Linked DNA regions of Homo sapiens: regions 1 and 3 are each linked to region 2. Evidence: promoter capture Hi-C in 16 types of primary human blood cells and fetal thymus (Javierre and others, 2016). All regions are on one chromosome and are shown on one strand. Each heading gives the region's core, a stretch centred on a gene start or on the middle of the fragment in contact. The rest is flanking DNA. Distances are from core to core; before and after follow the strand shown.

Region 1 (3,743 bases), core at 728-3,227, 5.0 Mb before region 2:
AAAAAAACTGGTTGAGGACTATTTCAGGCAAAGGATAAAAAAAGCATGTAGAAAAATGATACGAAACGGCTTGAAGAGCCTAAGAAAATAAAAGAAAAGAATGACAGAAAGGTATAGACCATACACTGATTTATATTTTGTTTTGAAGTGCAACAGGAAGACACTGAAGGATTTTAAGCAAAGTGATTATTTGCTTTTTGTTAAAGAAAAAAAGACTACTGGCCAGGCGCGGTGGTTCACGCCTGTAATACCAGCATTTTGGGAGGCTGAGGGGGGCGGATCACGAGGTCAGGAGATTAAGACCATCCTGGCTAACACGGTGAAACCCCATCTCTACTAAAAATACAAAAAAATTAGGAAGGTTTGGTGGTGGGCGCCTGTAGTCCCAGCTACTCAGGAGGCTGAGGCAGGAGAATGGCATGAACCTGGGAGGCTGCAGTGAGCCGAGATCGCGCCACTGCACTCCAGCCTGGTGACAGAGCAAGACTCTGTCTCAAAAAAAGACTACTGTGGCACCAATGTGGAGCACAAACTGTAGGAGAACAAGAGTAGAAACCAGGGGACTAATAACCAGGCTGCTAAAAAATCCAGGTAGAGATAATGACGACCTGTGTTATGATGTGAGAAATAAAGACAGAATGTTTGCAGGTAGGATTGACAAAGCTTGCTGATGGACCGAATATGGGGGAGATGAAGGAAATGAAGAAGAAAGAGGAATCAGGCCAGAGGAATCCCTGGGTTCCTGGCTTCAGTCATCGGATAAACAGTGATGTCACCTTCTGGGAAAACCAAGAGGGAGAAGAATGGATCCTATTTTTACACTCCTTGGGCTATTTGCAATACTTGTATAAGAATGAAATTAAGAAAATGGACCTTAACTATGGTAAAAAGATTTGCTACAGAAAGAATCTGTAAAATTACCAAAAAGAAAAATTACCTAGAGATGCAAAAATGTATCCATCTCCTTTAATCACACAACCAGGCCTTTTTATTGTCATTAAGTTTACTTGCTTCACTTAAAGTTACTCTGCACAAAGTGACTATCTCTGTTCTTCCGATTATTACGCTTACCACATATGTAGGCATATTCGGCTTTTAATGTATATTAATTATTTTTAGTCATAATGCTAATAGTATTGTTAGAAATGAAATTGTTCAGGCAAGGGTTATTTTCTATATACTTCAAGTAGAAGGCACTATCTCACAGGCATTCAATTAGAGGTAGGCAATTTCCTAGATTTAGGCATGCCAATGTAGGACTATAATCTTTATCTTGGACAGTTCATGATAGCCCCAAATTCCGAGGAAGCTTTGAGTCAGAAAAACTGAGAGCATGGGGTGACTAGATTTTTTTAAAAGTTAATTCTAGAAATAAAACTTTGTGTCAAACACCTGACAGGAAGTTTCTGAATATGTAACAACTCAATGCACTCACAAGAGCTTTCCAAGACAGCTTATTAATTTGATTAGCACCGTACTGTGTCAAACTAAAAGGTGCCTCAATGCCCTTCAAAACAGATGTTCTAACTGACTTTTTAAATACCTGAATTACAATGATTTCTTACCCCTCAAAGTATCTTTCTAGGGGTAATAAAGACACTTTGGGGGTATTTCATTTAAAATACCTCCTTAACAAGTAGTCTGTTGGCTTCAAAAGACCCTTTCTGCTTGCCAGTTTTTTTGACCCCAGACATGAAAGGCATGGATGAAATGAAAAACAGAATGAATCCGAGAAATGGAGAGTAAGAAAGGTGACAAGGGTCATTTATAAACACTTCATATTCAGCTTCCAAACCTCTCACACTTTAATTTCAGAACGAAGGATGTTTTGTTTTTTAGGGGTCGGTGTGCAGAAAAGTTTCTCATATATAACAAAGATTACTTGATATTCATTTTGAAATACAGTCTAGAAACAAGCAGGATTCTTGTCTAAAATCCATGGAATTCTGACCCAAGCGTTTCAGTCTTATCAAGATTTAAGGGTCCTATGCCAGGCACAGTGGCTCAAGCCTATAATCCCAGCACTTTGGGATGGCCTTGGGAGGCCAAGGCAGGAGAACACTTGGGCTCAGGAGACCAGCCTGGGCAACATGGCAAAATCCCCATCTCTACCAAAATAAAATAAAAAAAAATTACAATAAATTAGCCAGGCATGGTGGTGTGTGGCTGTAGTCCAGCTACTTGGGAGGCTGAGGTGGGAGGATCACCTGGGCCTGGTAGGTTGAAGCTGCAATGAGCCAAAATTGTGCCATTATACTCTAGCCTGTGAGGATGTGTCTCCAAAAAAAAAAAAAAAAAAGATTTAAGGGACCTAAACATGCACATAATTCCAAAACTGTAAGGAAATGTTTTACAGAAACATGGTAGATTAGGGATTTTAAAATTATAAGAATGAAATTAAGAAACTGGACCTTAACTGTGATAAAAAGATTACCATAGTTTTCTTTAGTAAATATGTTGAATATCGGTGCTAAAACCAAATGGCATTCTACTCAACTGCCTTGTGACATTGGATACTATTTCCCATAAAACTAGTTAAGTAGCTACCATCAATATCTCTTTCTCTCTTAATTTGAGGACTGCATAAAATACACATTTTCTCCCTCAAAGCTCCCTTTTCTTAACAAACCGAACATCAAAGCTTTCTCCAATAAAGGGCAGTTCACATAAATATAAAAAAGAAAATGTGCTGGGCAAAAACACATTCCTGGCTTTCTGGGTTTGAATTACGTATCATTTATTTCCTGGGCTAGGAAAAAAAAATTGGTTACACAAAGTCACAAAACTCTTAAATTTCCGGACAGGATTCTTTTAACTATAACTTACCCAGTCTAAAGTTGCATTCACATGCCTGTAATCCCAGCCCTTTGGGAGACCCAGGTGGGTGGATCACTTGAGGCCAAGAGTTCGAGACCAGCCTGGCCAGCAAGACAAAACCCCATCTCTACTAAAAATACAAAAAAAAATTAGCTGGGTGTAGTGGCGCATGCCTGTAGTCCCAGCTACTTGGGAGGCTGAGGCATGAGAATCGCTCAAACCAGGGAGGCGGAGGTTGCAGTGAGCTAAGATGGTGCCACTGCACTCCAGCCTGGGTGACAGAGTGAGACTCTGTTTCAGGGGAAAAAAAAAAAAAAAGCTGCATTCAATTGTTGGGTCGAAAAGATGGATAACGCCTAGCCCTAATGATTCGATTGTGTAATACTCCAGTAAAATATGAAACCTGAATATATGACGATTAAAATTGCCTTAATATCCTTTAATTCCATTCATATTGTCTCTCCTCTCATTCATAAATACTCAATATGTCAAGATGGCCCAAACTTCTTATAAACCCATCTGTTCTGTGAAATGTGACTGTTGTAGTTAAGGGATGCTTGTGAGGCACTTAAATAAAGCTATTTCTCAACTGTTCATGACCACCACCAGTTTTTCCTCTCCTTAGGCAGAGGATTACACATAGCTCCAATTATCAAAGGGTATGACACTTGTTTTTAAAAGGTGGGGAAGCAGACAGTATTTTCACATAATATCATTTGAGCAAATAAATTCTTCCTTAATATTTTTGAGTCATGATATGCCAGCACTGCTGTTCCTTAACCTAATACAATTATACTTAGGTCTGCATTGTAAATGGAAAACTGGTCTTCTACATGACAAGATTTACTCTACCTAAACTACAGGCTGGAGGTGGGGGACCTCCCATTTCAACTAAAAGAATCCATGTCACACCTTAAGTGTGATAA
Region 2 (3,309 bases), core at 306-2,805:
CAGCATCTTCCTGGATTTTCTGATTGCAAACTTCAGATAAATCCACTGAAGTCAAATGTTTCTCATGTTTTTGGTTAGCTTTTTGGTCAAGCCAGCATGACTTTTTCATTTTTTATTATTATTTTTTTGAGACAGAGTCTCACTGTTGCCCAGGCTGGAGTGCAGTGGCATGATCTCGGTTCACTCCAGCTTCCGCCTCCCAGGTTCAAGCGACTCTCCTGCCTCACCCTCCCAAGTAGCTGGGATTACAGGTGCGTGCCACCACTAATTTAGCCCAGCTAATTTTTGTATTTTTAGTAGAGATTAGGTTTCGCCATGTTGGCCAGGCTGGTCTCGAACCCCTGACCTCAGGTGATCCGCCAGCCTCGGCCTCCCAAAGTGCTGGGATTACAGGCGTGAGCCACCATACCCAGCCAGCATGACTATTAACTGAAAAAAAAAAAAAAACCTCAGGGTGTGGAAGTGCTCAGAGGCATTCAATGCTGATGTAGCGTGTCAAGGAAGCAGTCTCTTAAGTGTTGGGCAAATGAAAGGAATAAGACAAAATGAAGTGTTTATCAAGCTCAAAAGCAGAAGGTTGTACCTGATTATTTCTAAGGTCTTTCATTTGCTCATTTAATCTAAGCTACTTCACATCATTTGAAGAGAAAGTAAATTATCTCGCTTTCTGAGATGCAGGAGAGATTCCCCGTCCCCAAATCCCACTATCATCAACAACACAACTTCCTCAAGTTCTTCACTCACACACATACCACCTGCTGAACCCTGAAGCTTCAGTCACTCATTCCTAGCTACTCCAACCACAAGGGACCTACGGGCCTGCCAACCAGGCACACGCCACGCCCTCCCTATGGTGGACTCCTATTCATCCTCCAAGACCCAATTTAACTCCTCCTCTCTGAAGCCTTCCCCTAGCCCCCTGGTGGGGATAATCACTCCCTTCTTGGTGCCTCATCCGAATGCCTTCTTTAGACATCCCTCTACTGTGCGTCTGCCCCATTATACTGTCAGCTCCTTGAGGCCAAGGAATAAGTCTGAGGGCTGTGCCTAGGATAGGATGAATGGCGGCCATTTTACAGATGAGAAAAGCAAGTCTCCAGGTGAACAGAGGAGCTGAGGAAACTGACCAACAGCCAGATCTCCCGACTCGTCCAGACTTTAAAAGCTGAGTCCACCATTACCCTCATCCAGCGACCCCAGAACCCGCGCCAACTTCTGGGGACGCGGAAGCCTGGAAACTCAAGTTTTCTTTAGGGAATGAATGGACAGGGGCCCGTGGAAGGCGCAGAGAGGCAGCAGACGGGGAGAGAACCAAGAACCCGCCAGTCTGGCTTCAGATTGCTCCGCTGGACCGCGGTAGCGGCCAGGGATTCTACGGTCAAGACAACTTGGGGGTGGCCGGTCGACCACCAGAACCCGACAGAGAGGAATTCACACTCTCAGACCCAGGCCGACCCCATCACAAGTAAGGACAGCCCCTCTCCAAAGCCCACCCGCCGCTGCTTCCTTACCAAGGAAAGACGGCCATCTTCCCAGTCACATGACCGCTTGTTCTGGGGCCGTCTGCTCGGCTTCCCATCCTTACCCCGCCACTCCCCGCACCCCTCGGCCGCCATGTTTGTGAAGGGCAGCTGGCCGCCCCGCAGCGGCCGCACAGCACCTTCTGCAGACGCCATGCTTGTGAGGGGCAGGCGACGCTCCGCACAGCACAGGCTTCATTTTCAGCTGACGCCATGCTTGTGAGGGGCAGCTCCCCGCTCCGGACAGCCCGGGTTACAACTCCCGCCGGCGCCATGCTTCGGAGGAGCAACGTCGGCCACGGCCAGAGTGCCGTAGTTTCTATGAGTCATGATTGTAAAGGGCAGCTGTCTACAGTGCCGGGTGGTCCCGCCTGCGGGCGTCATGATGGTAAAGGGCATGACTGCTGCTTAGCTCACCTGCGTCCTCTAGGGGCAGAAAGGACTCCAGAAGGCGGCGGAGCGAAGACGCAAACTGAGGTTCAGCCAGTACCTGGTTTTGCGGCTAATACGCTGTTTGGCGTGGGACAGCCATGCCCCCTCTAGGCCGCTGCTTTACCCACTGCTTTGCGGGCGGTTTTAGACACTTGCAGAATGCCCTTCCCACGACTAGCAACCGAGGGCTGCCCTAGATCTAATATGATTGACTACAGCTAATGCACGTGGGGAAATTAGGGTTCGCATTTCGTCCAACTTGGCAAAGCAGTGTTTCTAGGAAGGTGGATATCCATTTCGACCACAGAACGTTTTTAAAAATTATTTTAGGCCGGGAGCGGTGGCTCAGGCCTATGATCCCAGAACTTCGGGAGGCCGAGGTGGGTGGTTCACCTGATGTCAGGAGTTCGGGACCAGCCTGGCCAACATGGTGAAACCCCGTCTCTACTAAAAAATACAAAAACTAGTTGGGTATGGTGGCGGGCGCCTGTAATCCCAGCTACTCGGGAGGCTGAGGCAGGAGAATTGCTCCAACCCGGGAGGATGAGGTTGCAGTGAGCCGAGATTGCGCCATTGCACTCCAGCCTGGGCTACAAGAGCGAAACTCCATCTCAAAAAAAAATTTTTTTTTTAATTATTACTTTTATAACTTACTTAGATATCCATTATGGTCCCTTAGAGAGAAAGCATTCGATGTTTTTATAACTCTTACTTTTCATTCGGGGGTGGTGGTCTGTGGTTGTTCATGAGATGGTGACCTATGACAGGGAAAAGGATCATCTCCAGAACGGGCCCTCCAGTGTTCAGCTCAGTATGAGTAGGAAAGTATATCCACTCGTACCTGCTATTCCCAACACTGGAAGTGAACAAGGGTTAAAGGGTGGCCACGGGAAAGCAAGGAGCTCTTCCCATACAGCCATGCATGTTATCACATGCAACATCTCAATAAGAGGTCAAGGTGAGGAGCCTTTTCCTAGGCTCACACTGCATGATTAGGCAGTAACAAGAGGAGGATTCTTAAAGTTGTGCAAATTAACAGCTTTGATGTGAGCTTCAACCTTCGCATTCTCTTTTCTCCCTCTCCTTCCCTTAGCAGGCTTCTATCTCTTAATAAGTTAAGACATTTCCAGCCTGAGTTTTACCTTCTGAAAAGTCCAACTTTTAGTAGAGACGGGGTTTCACTATGTTGGCCAGGCTGGTCTCAAACTCCTGACCTCAGGTGATCCTCCCGCCTTGGCCTCCCAAAGTGTTGGGATTACAGGCGTGAGCCACTGCACCTGGCCCAGGGGACATATTAAATAATGAGATATATCTTTCATGGAACTTGTAAAGAATGATTATATACAATATTTGTTTT
Region 3 (3,352 bases), core at 724-3,223, 3.9 Mb after region 2:
ACCACTCCCAATAGTGTGTAGTAGGTAATGTTTACTTTGTATTTACAGAGTAGGGAGCATTTTGGTTGGCACAAGAGATACAGTGGTGAAAATAGACAGTGGGGTTCATTTATCTAATTTTTTTTTTCTCTGTAATGCAGTGGCGGGGAGAAATTAGCCACATTTTGCATAGGAGGAAACAGAAACTTGAAAACAAAAATTTTTTTAGAGATGGAATCTCACTCTGTTGCCCACGCTGAAGGGCCAGTGGCACAATATAGTTCACTGTAGCCTCAAATTCTTGGGCTCAAGAGATCCTCCTACCTCAGTCTCTCTAGTAGCTGGGACTAGGCGCATGCTGCCACACTATGCTAATTTTTTGAACTTTATTTTATTTTAGAGCTGTGATCTTGCTATATTGCCCAGGCTGACAAAAGAGCCACGTAGTAAATATAGGCTTTGTGGGCCATACAGTCTCTTTGCAGAGACTCTCTTTGCAACTCTGCAATTGGAATGCAAAAGCAGTCATAGGCAGTATTTAAGTGAATGAGTGTGTCTGTGTCCCAATTAAACTTTATTTATGGACACTGACATTTTAATTTCATGTAATTTTGTTTGTTGGTTTTTGAGACAGGGTCTCACTCCGTCGCCCAGGCTGCAGTGCAGTGGTGCAATCACAGCTCACTGCAGCCTTGACTACGCAGTCTTAGGTGATTCTTCCACCATAGCCTCCTGAGTAGATGGGGCTACAGGCATGCACCACCACGCTCAGCTAATTTTTTGTAGCCATGGGGTTTTGCCATGTTGCCCAGGCTGGTTGGGAACTCCTGGGCTCAAGCAATCCACCCACCTTGGCCTCCCAAAGTGCTGGGATTGCAGGCCTGAGCCACGGTGCCTCGCTTGCATTTATTGTTAAGACCTGTAAGAGTGTTGTTGCTCTGGCGTAGATATAACACATCTGCGACTTGAGATTTTTCTATCAGTTAGATTTTTGGTGGTATATCAGATTGCACTTTCATCATTAGTAAACTAAGAAATTGGTTCAATTTGTTCTGTAGCAAATCAAATTCAAAGTCCACAGAGGCCACTTAGTTTGGACTTTTCATGCTCAGATCAAGAAACCAGTGCAAGAAGTTGCTCTTAAGTCAATTTTAAAATCTTACATATAGTTGTCAATGAGGATGTGGTGGTGGCTCTTTTACTCAGATTAGATGCTCTCTTCTGTTAACTTTTGACTTTCCTGAGCAGCATCTTTAGGGAGAGAGAGCCGAAAAGAATTCAGAAAAACTGTAGAAAAAATTGATTCCAGCCAAGTGAGGAGGTGAAGTCTCACTCTGGAATATGCAAGTTTCCAAGATATGGCTACCTCTCTCAAACATGGTTACATGTGGAAAGGAAACAAGACTCATGGAGAGTTCATTTTTTATTTGAAGAGCTATGAAACATGAAGAATGGCAGATTATAGATTTTTTAAGAAATCAGGTTGTTGCAGTTAGATTTTAAGCATAAACAGTCAACCAAGTTTACCAAATTTTATTAACCCGTAATATGCTCTGATATTTTGTGTTTTTTTCTTTCTTTATTTTATTATTATTATTTTGTTTGTTAAGATTTGAATTGTTGGCCGGGCGCAGTGGCTAATGCCTGTAATCCCAGCACTTTGGGAGGCCGAGGAGGGTGGATCACTTGAGGTCAGGAGTTCAAGACCAGCCTGGCCAACTTGGTGAAACCCCATCTCTACTAAAAATATAAAAATTAGCCAGGCATAGTGACAGGCTCCTGTAGTCCCAGCTACTCTGGAGGCTGAGGCAGAAAAATCGCTTGAACCCGGGAGACGGAGGTTGCAGTGAGCTGAGATCGTACCACTGCATGCCAGCCTGGGCGACAGAGCGAGACTTCCTCTTGAAACAAAGATTTGAATTGTTGAGAGCCATAGGACTGTAAATATAGCTGTGGTTTCACATTTTAGTATGTTGTAAAATTTGTACTTATGCAAGGAAATAACACTGAAATCTTACTCATTCTTAACAGGGTGGAAGAATGAAAGAAAAGAAAGATGAAAGGATGTTGAATCACTTTGCATGGCTGTATGATGGAAGGAAACGGAACTGAGAACTCCTGCAGTAGAACACGTGGATGGCTTCAACAAGATAATGATGCTAAGCCATGGCTTTGGAAATTCTCTAATTGCTTTTCTCGTCCTGAGCAGACGCTGCCACATAGTCCCCAAACGGTAACTATATGCAAGACTAAGGATGTAGCAGATTCCTCATCCAAATAGATGAGAGAGGTCCATTTGGTCTGGGATACAGTCTCTCATCCTAGAGTCTGTGCCACATTTTTCTGTAGATCTTGCCTGTATTGCCTCTTATACCACATTATAATGTGAGAGCACAGCACAATTTTTTAACTCTTCTATTTCACTTTGAGTAACAGTAGATGCCTTGAATATTTAATGTTAAAATTTGGGAAAGATTTCTTCCTCATTAAAGTCACAGGTAACAAAGATTAAAAATCCACATTGTGGAGTAAAATCAGAGGAAAATACAAAATATGTTGTATTTTACTGTAGCCCTCTTGAGTTTTGAGTCTATAATCTAGGAAGGGTTGGGAAGAGCTTATCCACTGCCTGTTTTTTATTTCGAGATTTCTCTTGAATATTTACTTCTCAGTATACATTTATGTCTCTAACTTCTTGCTTACTCATTGTGATTTTGACATTTTCTTTTTTTTTTTTGAGGTGCAGTCTTGCTCTGTGGCCCAGGCTGGAGTGCAGTGGTGCGATCTCGGCTCATTGCAACCTCTGCCTCCCAGGTTTAAGCAGTTCTCCTGCCTCAGCCTCCTCAGTAGCTGGGATTACAGGCCTGTGCTGCCATGCCTGGCTAATTTTTGTATTTTTAGTGGAGACGAGGTTTCGCCATGTTGGCCAGGCTGGTCTTGACCTCCTGACCTCAAGTGATCCTCCCGCCTCAGCCTCCCAAAGTGCTGGGATTACAGGCGTGAGCCACCGCGTCCAGCCAATTTTGACATTTCCTGACTTCATGCACTCATGTTACCACCTTTCTATTTCTTATTTTCTATTGTATGTGGGATTCAAGTGAGACTGTAATATAATTTTATATAAGGGTATTAACAACTTTTATTTGATTTTATTTTTTGAGACAGAGTCTCGGCTCAGCCCCCTAGGCTGGAGTGCAGTGGCACGATCCGGGTTCACTGCAACCACTGTCCCTAGTTCAAGGGATTCTCCCGTCTCAGCCTCCCTAGTAGCTGGGTTTACAGGCACTCGCCATTATGCCTGGCTAATTTTTGTATTTTAGTAGAGATGGGGTTTCACCGTGTTGGCCAGGCTGGTCTTGAACTTCTGACCTTA

The links. Contacts are between HindIII fragments. The CHiCAGO score rates a contact against its expected background, and 5 or more counts as called.
Region 1: a contact is called between a fragment that was not itself captured here and the fragment with the promoter of VPS35L in region 2, in 1 of 17 cell types (fetal thymus). The highest score is 5.3, in fetal thymus.
Region 3: a fragment that was not itself captured here is called in contact with the fragment with the promoter of VPS35L in region 2 in 1 of 17 cell types (fetal thymus); the score reaches 10.7 in fetal thymus.

What each region holds. Positions count from the first base shown.
Region 1 is chr16:24,541,849-24,545,591 of GRCh38, reverse strand. The region is part of intron 1 of RBBP6 (RB binding protein 6, ubiquitin ligase); the gene reads right to left. Among named protein-coding and RNA genes, the nearest start is that of RBBP6, 4.2 kb to the right of the region's middle. The HindIII fragment of the contact is 1,332 bases long and covers 1,312-2,643 here.
Region 2 is chr16:19,553,949-19,557,257 of GRCh38, reverse strand. It overlaps VPS35L (VPS35 endosomal protein sorting factor like), which reads right to left and starts at 1,555. Exons shown (of 31, transcript NM_020314.7): 1 at 1,512-1,555. The coding sequence starts at 1,528. RefSeq lists enhancers at 871-1,100, 959-1,921, 1,481-1,960. The HindIII fragment of the contact is 7,423 bases long and covers 774-3,309 here.
Region 3 is chr16:15,637,950-15,641,301 of GRCh38, reverse strand. MARF1 (meiosis regulator and mRNA stability factor 1) reads left to right here. Exons shown (of 27, transcript NM_014647.4): 2 at 2,011-2,212. The coding sequence starts at 2,069. Among named protein-coding and RNA genes, the nearest start is that of MARF1, 3.5 kb to the left of the region's middle. The HindIII fragment of the contact is 6,127 bases long and covers 1-3,352 here.